Regions from separate parts of the Homo sapiens genome. Here regions 1, 2 and 3 are each linked to region 4. The links are contacts of gene promoters, found by promoter capture Hi-C in blood cells and fetal thymus (Javierre and others, 2016). All regions are on one chromosome and are shown on one strand. The core of a region is centred on a gene start or on the middle of the fragment in contact, and the rest is flanking DNA. Distances in the headings are between cores, read along the strand shown.

The links. The method cuts DNA at HindIII sites, captures the fragments that hold promoters and counts their contacts. A CHiCAGO score of 5 or more calls a contact.
Region 1: a contact is called between a fragment that was not itself captured here and the fragment with the promoter of ATP6V1H in region 4, in 6 of 17 cell types (M1 macrophages, M0 macrophages, M2 macrophages and 3 more). The highest score is 7.9, in M1 macrophages.
Region 2: a fragment that was not itself captured here is called in contact with the fragment with the promoter of ATP6V1H in region 4 in 11 of 17 cell types (M0 macrophages, M2 macrophages, M1 macrophages and 8 more); the score reaches 11.6 in M0 macrophages.
Region 3: a fragment that was not itself captured here is called in contact with the fragment with the promoter of ATP6V1H in region 4 in 4 of 17 cell types (neutrophils, M1 macrophages, M2 macrophages and 1 more); the score reaches 6.6 in neutrophils.

What each region holds. Positions count from the first base shown.
Region 1 is chr8:53,994,962-54,001,566 of GRCh38, reverse strand. LYPLA1-TCEA1 (LYPLA1-TCEA1 readthrough) reads left to right here. Exons shown (of 21, transcript NM_001425842.1): 14 at 1,517-1,622. It overlaps TCEA1 (transcription elongation factor A1), which reads left to right. Exons shown (of 10, transcript NM_006756.4): 3 at 1,517-1,622. Among named protein-coding and RNA genes, the nearest start is that of TCEA1, 24 kb to the left of the region's middle. The HindIII fragment of the contact is 2,348 bases long and covers 2,661-5,008 here.
Region 2 is chr8:54,011,139-54,017,106 of GRCh38, reverse strand. All of the region lies in intron 12 of LYPLA1-TCEA1 (LYPLA1-TCEA1 readthrough), which reads left to right. All of the region lies in intron 1 of TCEA1 (transcription elongation factor A1), which reads left to right. Among named protein-coding and RNA genes, the nearest start is that of TCEA1, 8.3 kb to the left of the region's middle. RefSeq lists a silencer at 4,546-4,645. The HindIII fragment of the contact is 2,000 bases long and covers 2,246-4,245 here.
Region 3 is chr8:54,050,942-54,056,902 of GRCh38, reverse strand. It overlaps LYPLA1-TCEA1 (LYPLA1-TCEA1 readthrough), which reads left to right. Exons shown (of 21, transcript NM_001425842.1): 6 at 1,770-1,843; 7 at 4,147-4,248; 8 at 5,715-5,891. It overlaps LYPLA1 (lysophospholipase 1), which reads left to right. Exons shown (of 9, transcript NM_006330.4): 6 at 1,770-1,843; 7 at 4,147-4,248; 8 at 5,715-5,891. Among named protein-coding and RNA genes, the nearest start is that of TCEA1, 31 kb to the right of the region's middle. The HindIII fragment of the contact is 4,437 bases long and covers 1,778-5,961 here.
Region 4 is chr8:53,839,614-53,845,690 of GRCh38, reverse strand. ATP6V1H (ATPase H+ transporting V1 subunit H) reads left to right here and starts at 2,446. Exons shown (of 14, transcript NM_015941.4): 1 at 2,446-2,657; 2 at 3,966-4,113. The coding sequence starts at 4,001. RefSeq lists enhancers at 1,011-1,060, 2,358-2,497 and a silencer at 2,138-2,287. The HindIII fragment of the contact is 7,596 bases long and covers 1-6,077 here.

The DNA of each region.
Region 1 (6,605 bases), core at 2,585-5,084, 150 kb before region 4:
AAAAAGTGGAGTTTTTTTCCTAGTAAACTAGCCTTGTTAACCCCAAATTGTTTGGGGCTTTAAAATTGTGGAGTCCCTTTATCTTTCTGCTGTTCAATCTTGTCTGTTTTGCTCAGCTTTCTAAGAGATATAGGACACTCTAGCCAACCACATATTCTAAATTCTTGAATAAAACTTAGATCCTGAATCTGTTTGTTGAGAGGATTGAATAATTTAGAAGGAAACCTCAAGTACCCGTATATTTTTCTACCGTAAAGCTTACAATAGGGTGTCTCTTTTTTTTCACCACTAAGAATTCCTTTTGTTATTTTTTTCTTCCATAGACCATATGTTTGAAATATTGTCTGTTAACAACCCGAACTTACTAAATAATATACCATTTTTTATTTATCATCCATATTTGGGCTGTCATAGCTTTTGTGTTCTTTGAGCACAATTTGAAACCATTAATGTGCTACAAAGACCATGGACTTCGGCAGTGAACAAACCTGGATTAAAATCCCAGTTTTTGGCTGGGCCGGTGGCTCATGCTTGTAATCCCAGCACTTTGGAGGCTGAGGTGTGTGGATCACCTGAGGTCTAGAGTTTGAGACCAGCCTGGCCAACGTGGTGCAGTCCGTCTCTACTAAAAATACACAAATCAGCCGGGCGAGGTGGCATGTGCCTGTAATCCCAGCTACTCGGGAGGCTGAGGCAGGAGAATTGCTTGAACCAGGAGGTGGAGGTTGCAGTGAGCCAATATCGTGCCCCACTGCACTCCAGCCTGGGTGACAGAGTGAGAGTCCGTCTCAAAAAAAAAAAAAAAAAATCCCAGCTTTGCTGGTTGGTAATGGTGTGATGCTGGGCACGTTATTTATTGGTACTTCCAATCTCTTCATCTTTAAAAATAGGGATGATCTCAACTTTGAAGGGTTGTTAGAAAGATTGATGAATGTGGATGCTCTAAGCATAATTCTAGGCACGTAATTATCACAGGTTAAATTTTACCTGTATTTTGTGAAGTGCATTTTAATGTCTCTGATTATATGCTGGTTCCTGGCAAAATAAAGCCTTTTAAACCTGGATAGGTGGTAGTTTTTGTTTGGATATCCTCATAATAATTTGCAGCTGGTGCTCTATGAAGTAATCCATGTAGAGGAATGTATAGAAACAAAGAAATGCATGTATTAGTCATGATTGCTTCAGCCTGACTTATATACAACATTATATATTTTATCCTCGTTTATCTTCACTTCTCCCTTGTGGAAAGATTGATTGCATTTTTCTAGTTAACCAGACTTATTACAGTAGTGAATTTTATGCTTCTAGATCTTGATGATAAGAACATTAATGAGTCTAGTGTTTGATCTGAAGATGTATGTATCTTAATATAATTTGCTATTATAAGGATCCAAAAATTGAAGTTTTGAAATTCTAAAATAGAAACAGGAATCTGGGAAAGAAAAGAATGTAGGTGAAATACTAATTTGTTTAAAATAAAATTGGTATACATAATTTTTTTGTTATTGCCTTGCAGTCCACAAGAATCGGAATGTCAGTTAATGCTATTCGCAAGCAGAGTACAGATGAGGAAGTTACATCTTTGGCAAAGTCTCTCATCAAATCCTGGAAAAAATTATTAGGTATCATTGATCTTCCCTTACATATATTTATGATGTTGTGATTTATTCAAATAGTTAATGGTTACATTTTATGGTTAGTTAATGGTTACATTTTTTTCTTAGTGAATCTAGATATACTGAAAGCAGTGCCTCGTAATAAAGGCGAGGGGAGTTAATTTGATCTTTAGGGTTTTTTTGCCTTTTAGGCCAGTCAAATTTGGCTTTCTTAACTTTTGACACAACTGGATAAACTCTTTCAGTAAGAAGAATTTTCTCTTAAAGGAAAGGTTGTGGATACCTTTTGAAATGGTTTTTGAAATTTTTTGACTTACAGAAAACTTGCAAGGATGATTAAAAGAATGCCGTATCCTTTATCCATATCATCAATTTTTAATATTTGCCATATTTGTTTTATCATATTCTCTCTTTTTCTTTCTCTATTTGCACACACACAAATTATTTTTTTCGGAACCATTTGAAAGTAGGTTGAATATATCATGCTCTTTTACCCTTTAAATACTTGCGTGTATTTCCTTACTACAATCTTATTTTTTTATGGAATCATAGTATAAGAAATATAGGAAATTTAACATTGGTATAGTATTTTATGGTTTATGTTCAGGTTTGTCAGTTGTCCCAATAATGTTTTTTTATAGTTCTTTTGTTTTTCTACCTTCAGGAAAAGATCCACTTCAGGATCACATAGCTAGTTTTCTTTCTTTTTTTTTTTTTTTTTTTTTTGAGACTGAGTCTCACTCTGTTGCCCAGGCTGGAGTGCAGTGGTGCAATCTCGGCTCACTGCAAGCTCCGCCTCCTGGGTTCATGCCATTCTGCCTCAGCCTCCCGAGTAGCTGGGACTACAGGTGGCCGCCACCACGCCCAGCTAATTTTTTGTATTTTTAGTAGAGACGAGGTTTCACCGTGTTAGCCAGGGTGGTCTCGATCACCTGACCTTGTGATCTGCCCGCCTTGGCCTCCCAAAGTGCTGGGATTACAGGCGTGAGCCACCTCGCCTGGCCTCACATAGCTAGTTTTCTAATTTGAAATCATTCTTAAGCTTTTCTTTATCTTTTATGAAATTGACATTTTGAAGAATACAGGTATCCCTTCTCCTTTGTTTTCCCCCCAAGGCAGAAATGTTCCTTTCTCATTTGAAGACCAACCTGTTTACTTAGGTTCATGATTTTACTTTTTCTTTGTTTTTGGTCTGTGATCTTTCACTATCAATTATCACCTGTGTAGGAAATGTACATAGGGTCCTAGCCCAACAAATATGAATTCCCTCACCTTAAATTTTATTTTGGGGCTGTCAATTTTTTGTTGATATATTTCCTGAAAGTCAAATTTGGAAGGAAAGAAAATTAAACGCAATTTTGTCTTTCACATTAATTGCACAAACCCAATAAAAAAAATTACTGTTGTGGGCCATGCTTTAAAATTTTATGTGTGTGTGTGTATATATCCTGTCCCTTCCCCCTCATTCCTGGTCCCCTGCCTCAAGTAGGGCTAAAAGAAACAAGGTCATTTCCTATAGAAGAAAGTATGTATGCCTCCTGAATATGTGGAGTTTAACTTTTTATTTTGACATAATAAGTGACTCACAGAAAATTACCACAAAAAAAAAGTACAGAAAGGTCTCATGTACCCTTTATCCAGCTTCCTCCTATGGCAATATCACATAACTCTCATATACAGAATCTCAACCAGGAAATTGACAGTGATACAGTCTACAGACCTTATTCAGATTTCATCAGTTTTTACTGGCGCTAGTGTATGTGTGGGGGCATGTATCCTTCTGAGCAATTTTATCTTACATATACATTCATGTAACCATCATTAATGTGTATTTTAAAATACTTTCATGCAAATCAGATTTTTATCAAATTCATAATGGGCTTAAAAAATAGAACTTGGATATGTTATACAATATGCAGAAAATGACCAATTGTAATGAATGCAAAGTGGAATTGGATTTTGGTTTAAAAGTAAACTAGGAAATATATTCAAGGCAGAATTTCCCACATTTTTAAGTTGTATCCTTGAAGCAGGTTTATTCCCCTATCCACCCCCTTTCCCACCACTTTTTTTGTTTTGTGTTGAAATAGGGGTCTTGCTATGTTGCCTAGGCTAACCTCCAACTCCTGGGTTCAAGCAGTCTTTCACATCAGACTCCTGAGTAGCTGGAATTGCAAGCATCCGCCACTGCCCTCCTTTGTTATTTATTTACTAATTTGAGACAGAGTCTCACTATGTTGCTAAGGCTGGTCTTGGACTCTTGGGCTCAAGCGATCCAACCTGCCTTGGCCTCCCAAAGTGTTAGGTTTATAGGCGTGAGCCATCGCGCTTGGCCCCTCCTTTGTTTTTAATAGCATATTCCTTATTTGAGGTGTACCTGCTTTTTTCTCATGATTAGATCAGGTTGTACATCCCCAGTTGGAATACTGTTTAAGCATGTTATGTCCTTCTCAAGGTATCATATCCAGAGTGATTGATAGTAATTTTGAGAATCTAGTCAAAGCCACACTGTATAGTGTATTGTTTTTCCTCTTGTAGCTAATAGCCATTCTGTGGGAGACACTTTTAAGATCCTGAAACTGTCTTACACCTTAACAAATCTTTTTCCTCCCCTCCCAATTTAGGATCCATTGATTTTTTGCTCAAACCAATCTTTGTAGTAGTAGTTGCAAAATTGTGATTTTTCTGACTCCTCTGCTTCAATACTTATAAAATCATCATTCTGTTAGAAGAAGAACCTTCTGGCCAGGCATGGTGGCTCACGCCTGTAATCTCAGCACTTTGGGAGGCTGAGGCAGGCAGATCACGAGGTCAGGAGATCGAGACCATCCTGGCTAACACGGTGAAACCCCATCTCTACTAAAAAAATACAAAAAAATTAGCTGAGTGTGATGGTGAGCACCTGTAGTCCCAGCTACTGCTACTCGAGAGGCTGAGGCAGGAGAATGGCGTGAACCCGGGAGGCGGAGCTTGCACTGAGCCGAGATCGCGCCACTGAACTCCAGCCTGGGCAACAGAGTGAGAGTCTGTCTAAAAAAAAAAAAAAAGACAACCTTCTTTTTACCCCTTAGCTAGTTATCCATTAGTGTAGACTCGCAGGTTCCTTTTCTGTATAATGGATTGTAATACATTACTATTCAAATTTAATTTGCATAAATTTTACCCCTACTATAATTTTACCTATGCTGTGTGTGTACTTAATTTATATTACCTTTTTTAATGAAAATAGTTTGTTTTTCTATCATAACTATTATTTTTATTGGTTTCAGAATGATTTATTCAGTTGACTATACCATATTTTAGTTGATCACTTGCCAGTTGTTAGATTTCTTGTTTTTAACTTTATGGTGGTTGTAACTAATGTCTTGATGGATATCTTTCTGCCTAAAGCTTTTTCTTTACATTGTTAGCTAGATTTCTACATTTACTACTACTGCTACTAGGTAGCACATTGTTGAGTACTTAAGATGTGCCAAGCATTGACCTGTATTAATGCATTTAATCCTCACAACAATCCAATTTGGTAGGTGCTATTATAATCTCCATTTTATGATGAGGAATCTGAGGCACTGAGCGGTTAAATACCTTGCACACAGTTGAATCAGTGGTGAATAGCCAAGCTGGGACTTGATTGCAGACAGCTGGAGTCCAGAGCTGGAGCACCTCCTTCCCAGCTAGCTGGACTGTGTTGCCCACAACACCGTATCAGATAGTAGGAATGCTTCTGAGGCTGTTCATGCCTCTTACTGCTCTGCTGTCTAAAAGGATTGTACTAATTCACTGTGCCAGAGCAGTGTGTGAGATAGTTCTGCTGTCCCTTTGGCAGCATTGGATCCTTGCTGGATCATATTTCATTGTTATATCAGTTTTCCCTTTTAAATGCTTTCTACCCTATTACTTTTGGACCATTTCTTAGTCCTTGCCATGTGTCATTATTAATCTTTGTTTTCAGTGTTACAGTACTATAGCATCTTTGGGATTTGAGCCTTCAAGGAAATTATTGAGAATAACAAGGAGCAGTAAAATTATGTGAAGACTAAAGTGTATGTGCGTGTTTTATCAGAGGGCTTGAATTGTGTTTTAGGTTTGACAAACTTCAACTTTACAAGATGAGTTCTACAGTTGTGATTTCAACCATTCTCTTATCAGTGATTCTCATCCAGACAACTATATATTAGAGTTGTCTAAGGAACTTTAAAAAATAATGATGCTTGCGCCTCACTGCCAGAGATTTGGATTGAATGGATCTGGTTCGGAGCTTGGCATGAGGATATGTTTAAAAGCTCCCTAGGTGATTCTGCTATCCAGTTGGATATAGTTTCTTCTATATTCTATACAGAGAGATGTGAAGAATTGAAAGAATTCTTTATGTAGCCTTTATTGCTTATGTAGGGAGCAAAATGTACTTAACTGGTATACTTTGTACAGTAGACCCAAACGTTTTCTGAACTTAGCTTCAAGGCTATGTGTTTTGTTTTTGTTTTGTTTTTTTTGAGACAGGTATCACTCTGTCATCCAGGCTGGAGTGCAGTGGTGCAGTTATAGCTCATTGCAGCCTCAAGTTCCTGGGCTCAAGCGTTCCTCCTGCCTGGGCTTCCTGAGTGGCTGGGACTACAGGCATGCACTGAATTTTTCTTTTTTTTTTTTTTTTTTTTTGAGACAGAGTCTCACTCTGTCACCCAGGCTGGAGTGCAGTCGCACAATCTCGGCTCACTGCAACCTCCTCCTCCCAGGTTCAAATGATTCTCCTGCCTCAGCGTTAGCTGGGATTGCAGGTGTGCACCACCATGTCCAGCTAATTTTTGTATTTTTAGTAGAGATAGGGTTTCACCATATTGGCTAGGCTGGTCTTGAACTCCTGACCTCAAGTGATCCACCTGCCTCAGCCTCCCAAAGTGTTGGGTTTACAGGTGTCAGCCACCACATTTGACCCCAGGCAGGCACCAGTTTTAAAATTTAAGACTGTGTTGATTGATTTAAAAGTGAATG
Region 2 (5,968 bases), core at 1,996-4,495, 170 kb before region 4:
CTAATATACTTTCTGTCTGTGTGTTTGCCAAATCTGGAAATTTTCTGTCAGTGAAATTATACAGTATGTGGTCTTTTGTAACTGGCCTCTTTTGCTTAGTATAGTCTTTTTTTTTTTTTTTTTTTTTTGAGACGGAGTCTCATCTTGCTCTGTCGCTCAGGCTGGAGTGCAGTGGCGCGATCTCGGCTCACTGCAACCTCCGCCTCCCAGGTTCAAGCAGTTCTCCTGTCTCAGCCTCCCGAGTAGCTGGGACTATAGGCGCGCACCACCACACCCGGCTAATTTTTGTATTTTTAGTAGAGATGGGGTTTCACCATATTGGCCAGGCCGGTCTCAAACTCCTGACCTCATAATCCGCCTGTCTTGGCCTCCCAAAGTGCTGGGATTTCCACGCGTGAGCCACACCGCCTGGCCTGATTTTTGTATTTTTAGTAGAGACAGGGTTTCACCATGTCGGCCAAGCTGGTCTAGAACTCCTGATCTCAGGTGATCTACCCGCTTCAGCCTCCCAAAGTGCTGGGATTACAGATGTGAGCCACTGCACCCAACCACGATTTGCTTATTCATTCATCATTTGGTGGACATTTGGGCTGTTTCAGCTTTTTGGCTGTTGTGAATAATACTGTTAAAAACATTGCTGTACAAGTGTCTCGCTCTGTCACCCCGGCTGGAGTGCAGTGGTGTGATGGCTCACTGTAAGCTCCGCCTCCCGGGTTCCCACCATTCTCCTGCCTCAGCCTCCCGAGTAGCTGGGGCTACAGGCACCCAGCACCATGCCCGGCTATTGTATTTTTAGTAGAGACTGGGTTTCACTGTATTAGCCAGGATGGTCTCGATCTCCTGACTTCATGATCTGCCCGCCTCGGCCTCCTAAAGTGCCGGGATTACAGGCGTGAGCCACCGCGCCTGGCGACATATGTTTTCATTTCTGTTGGGTGTATACCTCGGAGAATAATTACTGGGTCATATAGTAACTATGTTTAACCTTTTGAGGAACTGCCAGACCTTTCCAGTGTGGCTGCACCATTTTACATTCCAACTAGCAGTGTGTGAGGATTCCAGTTTCACCTCATTTTCACCAATATCATTTGTCTTGATTATAGCCTTCCTAGTGGGTGTAAAGTGGTATTTCATTGTGGGTTTGATTTGCATGTCCCTTGTGATTAACAATGTTGAGCATCTTTTCATTGCTTTGTGGCCATTTGCATATCTTCTATGGAGAAATAAATGTCTATTCAGATCCTTTGCCCATTTTTTAGAAAAGAGTCAGGGTCTGGCTATGTTGCCCAGGCTGGAGTACAAATTGGATTAGTCCATTTTTAAATTGGGTTGTCTTTTTATTATTGAGTTGTAAGAGTTCTTTATATTCTGAATACTAGAACCTTGTTAGATATGCTGATACTGTCTCCCATTCTGTGGGTTGTCTGTCTGCTCTTGGTTGTGGCCTTTGAAGTATAAAATATTCTAATTTTGATGAAGATGAATTTATATATATTTTTCTTTTGTTGCTTGTGCTTTTGGTGTAGTTTAACTGCAAATTTGAGATGACATAGTAATATCATAAGTCCTAGCTTTATAGTGATGTTATTGAGCTACAACTCAAATATCTATAATTCATTGTTTAAGAAAATAGATAATGGGCCAGGCATGGTGGGTCACACCTGTAATCCCAGCACTTTGGGAGGCTGAGGTGGGCAGATCACGAGGTCAGGAGTTCAAGACCAGCCTGGCTAACATAGTGAAACCCCATCTCTACTGAAAATACAAAAATTAGTTGGGCGTGGTGGTGGGCGCCTGTAGTCCCAGCTGCTTGGGAGGCTGAGGCAGGATAATCGCTTGAACCCAGGAGGTAGAGGTTGCAGCGAACTGAGATCACGCCACTGCACTCCAGCCTGGGCGACACAGTGAGACTGTCTCAAAAAAAAAAAAATGGATAATATCTTAATTCTTTAACCTTGAAATCTTATAATAATGCCTATGAAGAAGACATTATTATAGAAGAAGTAACTGTTTTACTTGATTGAGCTTAAATATGATCACTGAAAATGCTGGCTTATGGCCCCTGGAGATTATTGTTATGGTAGAAATAAGTAATTATTTGTATATTTTTGTACTCCTCATCAACCATGCTATGTGTCAGACCCTCTATTTTGATACTTTATCTGTGTAATGTTGCCTCATTTGGCTGTTTTAACTACTCAAGGTTGGTGTGTTATGCTCACCTACGTATAAAGAAGCTGAAGCTTGAAAAGGACAAATAACATTACCCAGATCTTGTAGTTAGCAAATGTCAGAGCATGGATTTGAATCTAAATCTGTCATATATGTACACCATATTCTTAACTATAAATCCCTATTACTCCCTCCTTTTTACATCTCCTTGAGGAGAGGGATGTTCGTATCCTACATGGTCTTGAGTATACTGAGCACATAGTACAAGTATCATGGTTTATAAAATCACTTGTTTTCTATTACCAGATAGGAGCACCAACAATGTAATAAAATAGTGTGATAGCTGTAGTTTATCTTTCAGCCAGTAGTGTGAACTAAATTTGGCTCTGGAAATTAAAGAAGAGTCTTTCTTTCTCTTGCATCATCTGTAGGAGATGCTACAATCTCATAGACTTGGACATGTATTCTTTTCTTTTCTTTTTTTTTAAATAGAGGTGGGATCTCATTCTGTTATCCAGGCTGGTCTCGAACCCCTGGGCTCAAGTGATCCTCCTGCCTTAGGCCTCCCAGAGTGCTGGGATTACAGGCTGAGCCATTGTGCCTGGCCTAGGCTTGACATTTAGAGCTAGGTGATGCTTGGGGAAGGCTAAAATACAGCTTCTTGTTTGGTGATACTAGTCATCTGAATTCACAAAGGAGTGCTGCCACTGGCGCACTGCTGGGGAAAGGGCAGCAGTATAAGGGTCAGGCGACTAGTTCATGACCTTACTACCCGTCAGTATGACCTTGGGCAAGTCACTTTTCTTTTCTGGGTTTAAGTTTCTTTTTTTTGTGTGTAGTTAAGGGTTTGAAATAGATGATTAAAGATTTCTGTTTGTTTTAAAATTCCCTGATGTCAGAAAGGGTTTCAGTCTTGCTCACTGCTGTATCCCCAGTACAGTAGAGCTTGGTACATTTGACATTACTGGAGTAGATCTTACCTTTTCTAGTTAGTAATCATAGAACCTTGTGCAAGTTTCTTGACATATTTCCTCATCTGTAAAATGGAGATAATACCTGCTTCTATAGGGTTTATGGTGAAGGTGGAATTAAATCTATGTGAAGTATTTAACAATGCCAAGCACATAGCAGCACTCAAAGTTTGTTGTCACCGAATTAATGTATGATTATCTGTTTTGCATTTCACTCATTCAGATCATCATAGTTATTTCTTTTTGTTTGTCTGTTTTTTGTTTTTTTTTTTTTTTTTTTTTTGAGATGGAGTTTTGCTCTATCGTCCAGGTTGGAGTGCAGTGGCACGATCTCGGCTCACTGCAACCTCCGCCTCCTGGGTTCAAGTGATTCTCCTGCCTCAGCCTCCTGAGTAGCTGTGGGATTACAGGTGCCCGCCACCACGCCCCGCTAATTTTTGTATTTTTAGTAGAGATGGAGTTTCACCATGTTGGCCAGGCTGGTCTCGAACTCCTGAGCTCAGGTTGATCCTCCCACCTCGGTCTCCCAAAGTGCTAGGATTACAGGTGTGAGCCACATGCATAAGCCACCGTGCCCAGCCCATAGTTATTTCTTAAAGACCCTTCAGTGAAATATTTATTTGAATTAGTTGGAACACAGTGCAGTTTTCAGAAAGGTCATAGTTTTATTCCGTGAGTGTTACTTTTAGCTTTTTATTCCAACCATGGCCTCACCAGAGAGCTGAGTAGAAAAGGAAAGTAACAAAATTAATGCAAATATATTGCCTCTACTTGGAAAACAATTTAAACTGTATGTCTCATTGCTGATATGTTGGAAGAATCAACTTAATACTTAGGAAACCCTGCTTTTTAAGGAACTTCTAGAAGTGTGATTCTTTACCCTTATTAAGAGATTCTTGGTCAGAAGTGGATCAGAAATCCTGGAAATGTGGATAGAAGAAAAATGTCAATGGTAAATGGAGAATACAGGCCCACAATCTTTTTTTTTTTTTTTTTTTTTTGTCGTCGTCGTTTTTTAATTTTTATTTTAGAAATGGAGTCTCACTCTGTCCACACAGGCTAGACTGCCGTGGCACGATCATGGTTCATGTAATCTCAAGCTTCTGGGCTCGAGCAGTCCTCCCGCCTCAGCTTCTGGAGTAGCTAGGACTACAGGCACTATGGCCAGCTAATTTTTTATCTTTATTTTTTGTAGAGAGGGGGTCATGCTGTGTTGTCCAGACTTCTAGAGTTTGTTAATCAAAACCCTTAGGGTCTGATATATTTGGTAATTCCAGATTTTTCAGATTTGATAAAGATAATTTGGTATATACATCATATATTACATAATACCCCCAGCAGGATTTGGGCACTTCAGCAACCAGACATTAACATTTCTTTTTTTTGTTTTGTTTTTTGTTTTTTTGAGACGGAGTCTCGCTCTGTCGCCCAGGCTGGAGTGCAGTGGCGCGATCTCGGCTCACTGCAACCTCCACTTCCTGGGTTCAAGCAGCTCTCTGCCTCAGTCTCCTGAGTAGCTGGGATTACAGGCACCCGCCACCACGCCCAGCTAATTTTTGTATTTTTAGTAGAGACAGGGTTTCACTATCTTGGTTAGGGTGGTCTTGAACTCCTGACCTCGTGATCCATCCACCTCGGCCTCCCAAAGTGTTGGGATTACAGGTGTGAGCCACTGCGCCCGGCCTTAACATTTCTGTAGTCAGTTGTAATAGTCACATTACGTGGCATAGAGCACAAATAGCTTTACATGTGTTGTGGTTAGGTTTAGCTGCCAAATGAGTTTACCTATGAGAAATCTAGAAATCTTTTGCTTTTCAAAGGTTTTTGGTCTGGAAATTTGCAGATAAGGGATCGAAGACTTCATTTACTCACAACAATGTCATACCTGTAGAAATGCTTGTTTAATAATACGTTTTAAGTCAGTGTTAGATTTCTTTTCCAACAACTTTAATGTTTTACTGTTTCTAGATGACTAAATAGGAAGAATTTATAGAATTTTAAGATTAGGAGAGATCTTTAAACAGCAAATAATTAAACATTACTTATAATAACGTGTCATAATTTCTGTTGAACTTAAATTTTTATTTATGAGGTATTGGGTTGAATTGAAATGATGTAACTCTTTGTTACCAGAATAAAAGCTAATGGTTTTATTCTGGAAGGCCAAGCCTAATGTCTGTCACCTTTAAATGAAAAATTACATGACTAGAAGCCTTTACTTGATTTTATATCTAAGAAATAAAGTGATACTATGAGAGTCTTTGCTCGCTTTTTCCTTTGGCGTGTTGAATGAGGGACGTGCTGTGGTTCTTTCTGTTTTTTTGGGGGGATAGCGTGTATTTCATTGATTTGTAGGGTGCCTGTTTTCATACTTAAACATTTTAGAAAGCAGGATAGGTACACATATCATTGGCCAGATGGCCATTGTAATGTTCTTTCACAGGCAGAATGCTAAACCTAGCATCAGAACTTGTGGAATGAGTGTCATTGGCTTGGAAGGAAATCTGAGAGAGGATTTCTTTCTCTTTGAATCCTGAGGAACCAAATGACTGTGAAGAGCATTGGAGGTGAAAAGCAGCTGTGCACACTACTACAAAGCCAGCCCTAGAGCTCACGGCATTAGCTTTTTTGTGGATTCTTCTATGAAATGCTTTGTCACTTGTGTTCTTAAACAGCTCTTTGTGGGGTAAAAACAGATACTGTTGAATCTGAGTCAAAAAGTTCTGAATGTGAAGTACTTTTAGTAACAGCCAATTTTGTTTTACTTATATGTATGTTTTTACATATGTAAAAGGTGACGTGGTAAAAACTTCAACTCTAAAATA
Region 3 (5,961 bases), core at 2,747-5,246, 210 kb before region 4:
TCTTGCTCTTTCGCCAGGCTGGGGTGCAGTGGTGCAATCTTGGCTCACTGCAACCTCCGTCTCCCGAGTTCAAGTGATTCTCCTGCCTCAGCCTCCCAAGTAGCTGCGACTACAGGTGCGCACCACCATGCCCAGCTAATTTTTTAATCTGTAGTAGATACGGGGTTTCACCACGTTGGGCAGGATGGTCTTGATCACTTGACCTCGTAACCCACCCTCCTCGGTCTCCCAAAGTGCTGGGATTGCAGGCATGAGCCACTGTGCCCGGCCTGGCCCATTTTTTGATCAGATTATTAGATTTTTTTCCTATAGAGTTGTTAAAGCTCCTTATATATTCTGGTTATTAATCCCTTCTCAGATGGGTAGTTTCCAAATATTTTCTCCCATTCTGTGGGTTGTCTCCTCACTTTGTTGATTGTATCCTTTGCTGTGCAGAAGCTTTTTAACTTGATGTGATCCCATTTGTCCATTTTTGCTTTGGTTGATATGCTTGTGGGGTATTTCTCAAGAAATTTTTGCCCAGACCAATGTCCTGGAGATTTTCCCCAATTTTTTCTCGTAGTAGTTTCATAGTTTGAGATCTTAGATTTAAGTGTTTATTGTGATTTGATTTTTGTATACAGCAAGAGATAGGGTCTAATTTTATTCTTCTGCATATGGATATCCAGTTTTCCCAGGACCATTTTTATTGAAGAGACTGTCTTTTCCCCAGTGTATGTTCTTGACACCTTTGTCAAAAATGAATTCACTGTAGGTGTGTGTGTATAGATTTGTTTCTGGGTTCTCTATTCTGTTCCTTTAGTCTGTGTGTCTGTTTTTATGCCAGTACCATGCAGTTTTGGTTACTATAGCTCTGTAGTATAATTTGAAGTAAAGTAATGTGATTCCTCTAGTTTTATTCTTTTTGCTTAGGGTAGCTTTGGCTACTCTGAGTCTTTCGTGATTCCATATAAATTTTAGGGGGCTAGGCACGGTGGCTCACGCCTGTAATCCTAGTACTTTGGGAGGCCGAGGCGGGCGGATCTCGAGTTCAGGAGATCGACCATCCTGGCTAACACGGTGAAACCTCGTCTCTACTAAAAATACAAAAAATTAGCCGGGCATGGTGGTGGGCACCCGTAGTCCCAGCTACTTGGGAGGCTGAGGCAGGAGAATGGCATGAATCCAGTAGGCGGAGCTTGCAGTGAGCCAAGATCACGCCACTGCACTCCAGCCTGGGTGACAGAGCGAGACTTTGTCTCAAAAAAAAAAAAAAAATAATTAGGATTGTTTTTCTATTTCTGTGAAGATTGTCATTGGTATTTTCATAGAGATTGCATTGAATCTGTAGATTGCTTTGGGTGATTTGGGAAAAATATTCCATGGTCATGGATTAGAAGAATTCATGAACAATAACAATCAATATTGTTATTGGTTCTTCTTATCCATGACCATGGAATCTTTTTTCCATTTTTTGGTGTCCTCTTTCATCAGTGTTTTATAGTTTTCATTATAGAGACCGTTCACTTCTTTGTTTAATTCCTAGGTATTTAATTTTATGTGTGACTATCGGAAATTTGATTTTTTTAAAATTTCCTTTTCACGTTGTTCTCCGTTGGCATATGAAAATACATTCTAATTTTGTATTTTAATGAAGTGCTTTGAATTTTTCACTCATTTCCACCTTAAAAGTAATTGCGCTTTTCTATTACTAATTTTTTCCTAATTTAAATTTTATCAGTGGGCTTAACTCTGAAAGTATTGCTGACTAACTTTCATGTTGTTTTTAGTAAAAGCTTTGATTGATCAAGAAGTGAAGAATGGCATTCCTTCTAACAGAATTATTTTGGGAGGGTTTTCTCAGGTAAGATAAAATTTGAGTGGAATGTCAGTACCATCAGTATACTTATTTAGAAGTCTGTGCATTAATCCTTTCTATAGAGTAGTCTTTTTTGATGTTATAGAATCTTGACTGATACACTTACCTTTGATGTTTAATTAAGTTTCAGTGTACTGGAACTAATTAATTTCTTCTTGAAAGAACTATAATACACATGTACACATGTAATTAAATTTCTAAGTTAACACAGTTTATCCTTTTAATTAATTAAAACTGATAACACAGGCATGAGTCCCCTCTATAGGAGGAGACTACTGATAGGAACAGTAAAGTGGAAGACAAGAGAATTTCTTCCCTTTACCTTCACGTATTACAGGTTTTAGGTATGAATATGTGGTGTTTATTTTTGGCATTTTTCTTTGTCTCTGTACTTTTTCCCCTGCTTTCTGTACTCCCTCCACAGACGTAGCTTCCTCATACGGACCTTTCTTTCATGGCTACTGCGGCATATAAGCTGTTTGCCATGGAACCAGTCCCCAGATGCTCTAACTTATCATCTGTAAATCTTCTAAGTTAGCAACTTAGTGTTTGGATTACCTTAATTAGGGAGATGTTTGGATTACCTTAATTAGGGAGATGTCAGAATTCTGAAATTATTTAGAAGATAGAATTCAGTAGAAAGATTTGTTGATACAATATAGTGAAAAGGTGTTACTGATTTGGTGTTTGTTGAAATTCACAGATAATGTATATTGTAATACACATTGTGACATAAACATAGGGACAGAAATTAATGATCCAGGCCAGGCACGGTGGCTCACGCCTGTAATCCCAGCACTTTGGGAGGCCAAGGTGGGTGGATCACTTGAGGTCAGGAGTTCGAGACCAGCCCAGCCAACATGGTGAAACCCTGTCTCTACTAAAAATACAAAAATTAGCCGGGCATAGTGGTGCACGCCTCTGTAACTCCAGCTACTCCGGAGGCTGAAGCAGGAAAATCACTTGAACCCAGGAGCCAGAGGTTGCAGTGAGCCAAGATCGCACCACTATACTCCAGCCTGGGCAACAGAGCTGAGACTCTGTCTCAAAAATAATAATAATAATGATCCAGAATAACAAGTTCATGTGGGAGTCTGTATATTTGATATTCATTCATTACAGTATATAGAAACCAACTCAATACCTCAAGCAAGGAGTAAGCAATGAGTCTGTGGCATCCTATCAAGGAAACTGAGGAGGAAAATGAGGCAAGGCCTCAGGAAGTAGCTAGAAATTGAAAAGCAGTTGGGCCTTGCTCACCATCTCTCATCTCTTGTTTCTTTGCTTGTCTGTTTCATTTACCTTTCCATAAACAATTGGCCATCTTGGCTTTTGCAGCCTATAGCTTTTCCAGCTCTTGAATTTACATGTTACAGGTGTAGCCACACAGAGAGTGACTGGTGGTCATCGAATCCCATTTCCACAGTGCCAGGAGAAAACATCACTGCCTGGGATGTGAAAGGCTCTCGTGTACTCATGTGTTGCAGTAACCCATGGGCATGGTCAGAGTGATGGGGCTTCTGGATGCTGGCAGGAGTACAGCTTCCAGAATGTGGGATGTTGTGAGCTGGGTAGGCAGATACTCTGAAGGTGTCTGCTAAATAGTTATTATTATCTTAAATTCTCATTTAGAAAGTAATACCAATTTAAGGGCCAGGCACGGTGGCTCACACCTGTAATCCCAACACTTTGGGAGGCTGAGGCGCGTGGATCACCTGAGGTCGGGAGTTTGAGACCAGCCTAACCAACATGGAGAAACCCCGTCTCTACCAAAAATACAAAATTAGCCGGGTGTGGTGGTGCATGCCTGTAATCCCAGCTACTCGGGAGGCTGAGGCAGGAGAATCGCTTGAACTCAGGAGGCGGAGGTTGTGGTGAGCCAAGATTGCACCATTACTCTCCAGCCTGGGCAACAAGAGTGAAACTCCATCTCAAAAAAAAAAAAAAAAGTAATACCAATTTAAGAGCAGATTGGATTTTATGCCTAAAATTCTGCAAAGGAGAAAATATAAATTCAGAATATTCGTAAGGCATGTTGTAAGTGCAGCAGTTTCCCATGGTACAAACTATGTCTCGTCGGAAAGGAAGTCTGTATGTTCTCTGGTGTAGAGAACCGCATCCTTTAGGACACGGTGGGGTGTGTTTGTATTTCCGATATTTGCCTGATTTGATTTGACACCAGCCACCAAGTTTGATTTTTTTATGGATATCATTAGTAACAAGATATTCCCTAAATTGCTGTGGGCAAGCATGTGTGTTCCATTGACTTTCCCTGCTTGTCTTTTCAGGGAGGAGCTTTATCTTTATATACTGCCCTTACCACACAGCAGAAACTGGCAGGTGTCACTGCACTCAGTTGCTGGCTTCCACTTCGGGCTTCCTTTCCACAGGTAACTTGGTTGATGCACTCAACATGAGATTACTGAGCTAAAGGTAGCTAGTAGATATTGTTGGAGATAAAGTCATCTTATTTTTTTTTATTAATAAACTTTATTTTTTGGAGAAGTTCTAAATTCACAGCAAAACTGAGCAGAAGGTACAGAGTTACTATCTACCTCCTGTCCCCACACATGCACAGCCTCCCCACCATCAGCATCCCCACCTCCACAGCCATGTTTTTGCTGCAGTCAGTAATGCTGCACTGACACATCACCATCACCAAGTCCTCCACTTACAGCACTCATCCTTTTTTAAAAATAATTTTCTTAGACTTTTGTGATGTATTACTAGGCCTTATTTCTGTACGCTATACTGTCTGTATTGTGGAGTACATAGAATGGAATTAGAAAGAAACCTTATTGTCACAAATCTTATATTAGAAGGATTTGATACATTTTAGGATATATATGAAAATTAGGACTTTTTTTAACATATAGAAATCATACTTATTTTTAGACCAGGTGCGGTGGCTCATGCCTGTAATCCCAGCACTTTGGGAGGCTGAGGCGGGTGGATTACCTCAGGTCAGGAGTTCAAGACCAGCCTGGCCAACATGGTGAAACCCCATGGCTACTAAAAATACAGAAATTAGCTGGGCGTCGTGGTGCACACCTATAATCCCAGCTACTCAGGAGGCTGAGGCATGAGAATCACTTGAACCCAGGAGGTGGAAGTTGCAGTGAGCCACGATTGTGCCACTTCACTCCAGCCTGGGTAACAGAGCAAGACTCTGTCTTTGGGGGAAAAAAAAAAAAAAAGATAGCTGAATAAAACAGCAACTCAAAATACTAAAACAACCAACCAAACAAACAAAAAAAAGCTGAAAATATAAAGATGGATTAAAATATAATCTGCTTGGCTGGGTGCAGTGGCTCACGCCTGTAATCCCAGCACTTTCGGAGGCCAAGGCAGGTGGATCACAAGGTCAGGAGATTGAGACCATCCTGGGTAACACAGTGAAACCCTGTCTCTACTAAAAAATACAAAAAAATTAGCTGGGCGTGGTGGCACGTGCCTGTAATCCCAGCTACTTGGGAGGCTGAGGCAGGAGAATTGCTTGAACCTGGGAGGCAGAGGTTGCAGTGAGCTGAGATCACGCCACTGCACTCCAGCCTGGGCAACAGAGCAAGACTCCGTCTCAAAAAAACTAAACGAAACAAAAAAATGTATATATAATCTGCTTCAAGGAACTCATTCACTGGGAAGATATATATTATAATATGAGGCAAGGTGATCATACATCCTATAGAAGTCAAAGGGATGTGGTGAGTATATGGATGAAGGAATTTTATTTTTTTGGCCAAATGTAACTTCTAATATGTTATATATATGCATATTTATGTACAATTTTAAATGCCTGGCATAGTGTCCTATACTTTTACAAAAATAAAACTATTTCTTCTTTTGCTTTTTGCAGGGTCCTATCGGTGGTGCTAATAGAGATATTTCTATTCTCCAGTGCCACGGGGATTGTGACCCTTTGGTTCCCCTGATGTTTGGTTCTCTTACGGTGGAAAAACTAAAAACATTGGTGAATCCAGCCAATGTGACCTTTAAAACCTATGAAGGTATGATGCACAGTTCGTGTCAACAGGTAGGTGTCTAGAAGCAGTGATCAGCGCCATATTTGTAACTTTTTTCATGTGATATTTTCAAGAAAAGTA
Region 4 (6,077 bases), core at 1,197-3,696:
TATAGATTCATCTAACTTCCCCTTATGTCATTTCTAAATAACAAATCTGAAGCTCAATTTCAAAGAAATTACAAAGTAGCTCAAAGGTTATCTTTCTTATGTCATAATACAGCAGTCCCCAACCCTTTTGGTACCAGGGGCCAGTTTCGAGGAAGACAATTCTTCCACAGACAGGGTGGGAGGTGATGGGGCTGGTTTCAGGATGACACTGTTCCACCTCAGCTCATCAGGCATTAGATTCTCATACAGAGTGTGCAACCTAGATCCCTTGCAATGTGCAGTTCACGATAGGGTTCATGCTTCTGTGAAAATCTACTACCGCTGCTGATCTGACAGGAGGCAGAGTTTAGGCGGTAATGGGGCTTGCCCGCCGCTCACCTCCTGCTGTGCAGCCGGGTTCCTAACAGGCCATGGACCACACCAGTCTGTGGCCCAGGGTATGGGGACCCCAGGTATGTTATATAATTAGGTAACTGAGATCACCGCTATGGTCTGTGTCTCCCCAAAATTCCTGTGTTGAAATCCTAACTCCCAAGGTGATGATATTAGGAGGTGGGACCTTTGGGAAATGATCAGGTCATGAGGGTGGAGCTCTCATGAATGAAATTAATGTCCTTATGAAAGAGACCCCAGAGAGCTCTCTCACCTCTCCACCATGTGAAGCTACAATGAGAAGACAGCAGTTTGCAACCTGGGACAATCCTTCCCAGAACCTCACCATGATAGCACCCCAATTCTGAACTTTCAACCTCCAGAACTGTGAGAAAATGACTTTCTGTTGTTTATAAGCCACCCAGTCTACAGCACTGTTACAGGAGCCTGAATGGACCAAGAAAAATCTCCGATAGAAGTGTTACAGAAATAATGTTAAGAGAGATAATGCCGGGAGTACCTGCCTCTTCTCTTCTCCCTACTCCAGGCAAATTGTCTGGTAATGTTGTGATGCTCGGAGAACGCCAGCCCAGGTGCCTGTGAAGCAGTCCCCTCTGCTCACTGCACTGTTCCTGATTTTGTTCCATAACTTTGTGCCTCTAGGAAAAGAGGAGAGCCTCCCGAAATCTGATGAGACTCGCTGTATCACGCCAGTCTGTGGCTTAGGTGATACAGAAAGGAAATGCGAAGATCAGGCCTCACTGCCAGCTTTGCTCAGTTACACAGAAAACATGCTGTTTCAGCTTTTGGGAGTTTCTTAGTACACGATCGGTTTCTTTTTCTCTTTTATGAAAGTTTTTCCCCTTAGATTTGCTTTCAAAACAACAGACTTTCACTTCTGGCTAAGACAGAATGAGTGACCTAGTACAATCTTTGACACTGTTATTATATATCTTTATTCATAATCAATGCATGATTTTGATTATTCTGACTTTAATTTTACGAGTAAAAATGGGTTGGTTATAAATCCCTTTCAAAGAATTTTTTTTTTTTCTTTTTGAGACGGAGTTTTGCTTTTTCTGCCCAGGCTGGAGTACAATGGTGCGGTCTTGGCTCACTGCAACCTCTGCCTCCTGGGTTCAAGTGATTTTCCTACCTCAGCCTCCCAAGCAGCTGGGATTACAGGCATGCGCCACCACACCCAGCTAATTTTTTGTATTTTTAGTAGAGATGGGGTTTCACCATGTTGGTCAGCTGGTCTCGAACTCCAGACCTCAGGTGATCCACTGGCCTCGGCCTCCCAAAGTGCTGGGATTACAGGAGTGAGCCACCGCGCCCGGCCCCTTTCATTGCTTTTTAAGGAAAACATGCTATCATATATACTTCACCTCCAGGGCAGTACATTCTTACTTTAAGGCAAAGACAGTTGCTGAGGCCTGGACTAGGGGAAAATTTGGGCTCCAGATGGGACTGTTGGATAAAATACCAGACGTCCTGTAAATGTGAATTTTAGATAAACAACGAATAACTTTTTAGTATAAAAGTAAATACTGCAATGGAATTTATTATTTGCTAAATGTGCAACCCTAGGTTAAGAGAGCTTTTCAGACCCACTTCTCAGCCCGAGTTTTCTATTTAAAATCAGAATAAGAACGCCTGCTTCATGGAGCTGTTAAATCCAAATGGAAATTAATTTGAAAGCGCGAAATCAAACTTTTCAAAAGAATGACGGTTACAATAAGAGCGTTTTGGCCTCTGCTAGCTGCTTCCGGGCGGAGGTCCTCGGCCTCCCCTAGGCGAGGCACTAGGTCTGGGGGCGGCGGGTCTTAGCGTGCCCGCCACGCTCGCCGCCTCCCACCTGCCCTGGCTGGCTGGGGCCCGACCCTTGCGTCGCTCCGGGGCCCAAGTTACGGACTCGGGAATCCAGTTGTCCGCACCGAACAAGCCCCGCCGCAGCGCCCGCCCCTCCTCTTGCTGCTTTGGAGTCTCCCGGCTTCCGCCTTCCGCAGCAGTCACGTGCCTCCGATCACGTGACCGGCGCCTCTGTCATTCTACTGCGGCCGCCCTGGCTTCCTTCTACCTGTGCGGCCCTCAACGTCTCCTTGGTGCGGGACCCGCTTCACTTTCGGCTCCCGGAGTCTCCCTCCACTGCTCAGACCTCTGGACCTGACAGGAGACGCCTACTTGGCTCTGACGCGGCGCCCCAGCCCGGCTGTGTCCCCGGCGCCCCGGACCACCCTCCCTGCCGGCTTTGGGTGCGTTGTGGGGTCCCGAGGATTCGCGAGGTAAGGCCGCCCTCGCGTTGTTTGGTCTCAGGCTGCAGACCAGGTCAGGCGACTCTTGCAGTTTCTCCAGCTTGCCTGGTGCGTGCTGGTGTCTCGCCGCTTGGTCCTCTCCTGTTCTTCGGCCCCCGGTTGCCAGATTGCTTTTCTTCCAGGCCTCAACCAGGTTTATTAAGCGAAATTCTGGAGCCTTTCTCGCAGGGGGAAGAAACGTCAGGGGCGGGCAGGAGAGTGGAGGGGGAGGGGTAAAAAGTATACCTTCTCCAGGACTGGGCCACGGCCCTGGATCGCTGGGGGTGCGAGTAGTTCAGGGACTTAGGTAATTGTCTAGAGACACCTTGAGCTACGCCAGGACGGGCCGCTGAGGCTGAGCCTCCTTGGCTGCAGAGTTCCAGCCTGGCCCAGTTGAAGCCTGTTTTTTCCTGGGCCCTGTCGTTCGCGCTGCCCAGGGTTGTTTATACAGCAAATCTTCAGATACAGAGATTAAGTTCCAAATTGATTAAGATCGTTGGAAACCCGGAATATAATTTTGGGTAGGATTTTAACTTCTTTGTGGCCATGGCCGTGAATTTATGTTTTGCAAGTGGCAACCTGTATTTTGCTTTGTGTTAAAATCAGTCGTTTGTATCTGGAAGTTTAGGAGTGAGAATTACATAGAATTTCATTATTGTAGGTTCTTGTCGTCCAGCCAGACCGCCATTGTTGGCTTACCTAAATTGTAATATGTATTTGTTCTAAAACTTTCTCTCCGAATTTTGATTTTGCAAATACTATGAATTTTGTTTGAAAAGGAAAGCACTGTCTTCTAAGAAATTATGTTCCCACTTTGTGTATTTTAATTTGAGTAATTTTCGAAAGGACTTAGAATTTTTAATGTGCCACTTCAAAATGATGCTTAGTAAATGTTTATAAAACTAGCCTTATCCGTACTATTCATATTCTTATTGTTTCTCTATGAGAAAAGTTAACCACAATTGTATAAATTTACAATTTTTCCCATATTTATACCTATTCTATTTAATCATGATTTCTGATTTCAGTATATTAGGTGATTGCTTTAAAAATCTTACTGCAGTGTTAGTGCCAATAATGAAAAAAATTTTTCTAGAAAAGCAAAAGCCTAAAGAACTCTTTTATGGAGCAGTGGACAATATTTGAAATATAATGATACTTTCAGACTTAGGACATTTAATATTTGAGTTGAATGCCTGGGGAGATTAAAGTGATCACGATATTCATAATCATAATATTAATAGTTGTAAAAAAAAGAAACACCTCGTATTCTGTTTTTACCTTGCATCAAAATTGAAGATTTGTTGAAAGACATTCAAGATTACGAAGTTTAGATGACCAAAATGGATATCCGAGGTGCTGTGGATGCTGCTGTCCCCACCAATATTATTGCTGCCAAGGCTGCAGAAGTTCGTGCAAACAAAGTCAACTGGCAATCCTATCTTCAGTAAGTACCAATTTGCTGTGAATCATGGACAGTCATATGCTTTTGCATCAGACTTTTTCATGGTCATGCTTCTATGAGAGAAATACAGGGAAAATACTGAAAAATGTGGAAGAAACACTTCCTCTTCAGAATAATTAGCTGTCTTAGGGAGTTAAGTGTAGTGGGGTGGAAACAGCTTGGCGCCCTAGTGGGGAAGCAGAGCGGCTTATGGTGCTTTTGACCTTCTCTGGCTGCCTGGGGAAGTACTTTTGGAATAAGTGGGAAACATAGGAGGAATGTCCTTGGGCTAACGGAGGGAGGAAGGGGATGAGGGGCAAAACCTGCTAGACTGGTCTGATATGCCCTGGCAATCAGCATGGGGGCAGGTGGCCTTTTTAGAGTGGTGCATACAACTAATAAGAAGCACAGATATTTGAGTTGAGAGACTTGGATTTGAGTTTTGGTTCTTGCTATTAGTTTGGTGATCTTAAGCAAATCACTTAACTTCTCTGAGGCTCAATAAAGTAAAATGTGAAATGGGGAGACATACCCCACAGGCTTGTTGCTGAAATAATGTATTTATTAGCACAGTAGAATACAAGCATTAGTATGTTGAATACAATACATTTTAGTTCCCCCTTCTTTCTTGTATGTATTAATATTTAATGTGCTGATGTTTCAGTATTTTGTATTTATCTATAAAGTGAGCATTCATGTATTCTTGACCATATTTTATTGACTTCATATTTATTTTGGTATATTTATAACTGAGTTACCAAGGAATTCAGTTCAGATTTGCATATGCATTTTGAAAAACAAATTGAGGAATCTAGTTTTATATTAGTGTTAATTTTATATTAGTATTAATAGTTTGTGTTGTTGTAGGAGGGATCTATAATGTACAAAAATGATCCTTTAATTTCTGTTAATTTAATCACTCATCAAACATTTATTGATTACCTGCCAAGTTTGAGGCATTTTTCCAGGCTTTGAGGCTACAAAAATTCCATACAGAGTACTGTCCCTGAAGGAACTAAAACTCTAGTAGGGAAGTCAGATGTATTAATAGATCATTTTAATTCACTATTTTTTTTTTTTTTTGAGACAGAGTCTCACTCTGTTGCCCAGGCTGGAGTACAGTGGGGCAGTCTTGGCTCACTGCATCCTCCGCCTCCCGGGTTCAAGCAGTTCTCCTTCCTCAGCCTCCCGAGTAGCTGGGATTACAGGCACCTGACACCTTGCCCGCCTAATTTTTTTGTATTTTTAGTAGAGACAGGGTTTCAACATGTTGGCCAGGCTGGTCTCGAACTCCTGACCTCGTGATCTGCCCCTCTTGGCCTCCCAAAGTGCTGGGATTACAGGCGTGAGCCACCGTGCCCGGCTCTAATTCAGTATGTTAACTGTGGCAATAGAAAGATGCACAGGGTCTGGCAGGTGCACATAAAAAAGACAAGTAATTCTACCCCTTGGAAATTTTCCTGAAGGGGCTGGTCCCTGAACTGAGTTTTTGAGGATGATGGGTATTTAGCCATGTGGCAAGTAGGAGCAGCCTTGGGAATAGAACAGATAATGTGAGCAAAGGCAGGGAAGCAAAAACAGCACACTGGGTGGGAGTCATACATGTTTTGGAGGCAGGCAATGCAGAGAGCTGAGGCTAGAGAGGCAGCCAGGGGCCGATCGTGAAGATGCTGTGTGTGGGTGTGTGGTTGGAAGGAGTTTGGACTTGATCCTATCAGTCAGTGCTTTTCAAGCTGATTTTTAAGCTGTGAAGCCCATGATTGATATGAAGTTAGCATGTAAAACAGATGAAAATGATAGAATGGAGGTGGGAGTGTGTGTCCCAGAGCCCTCTTTTTGAGACCATTCACCATTTTCCAAGGAGCTGTAGGTGTTGGAAACCAATGAATCTTGTAGCCGGGAGTTAGAAGACCATATCTGCCTCTTGATTGAATTGTTCTACTAGCAGCATGAAGGGTGAGTTTGTA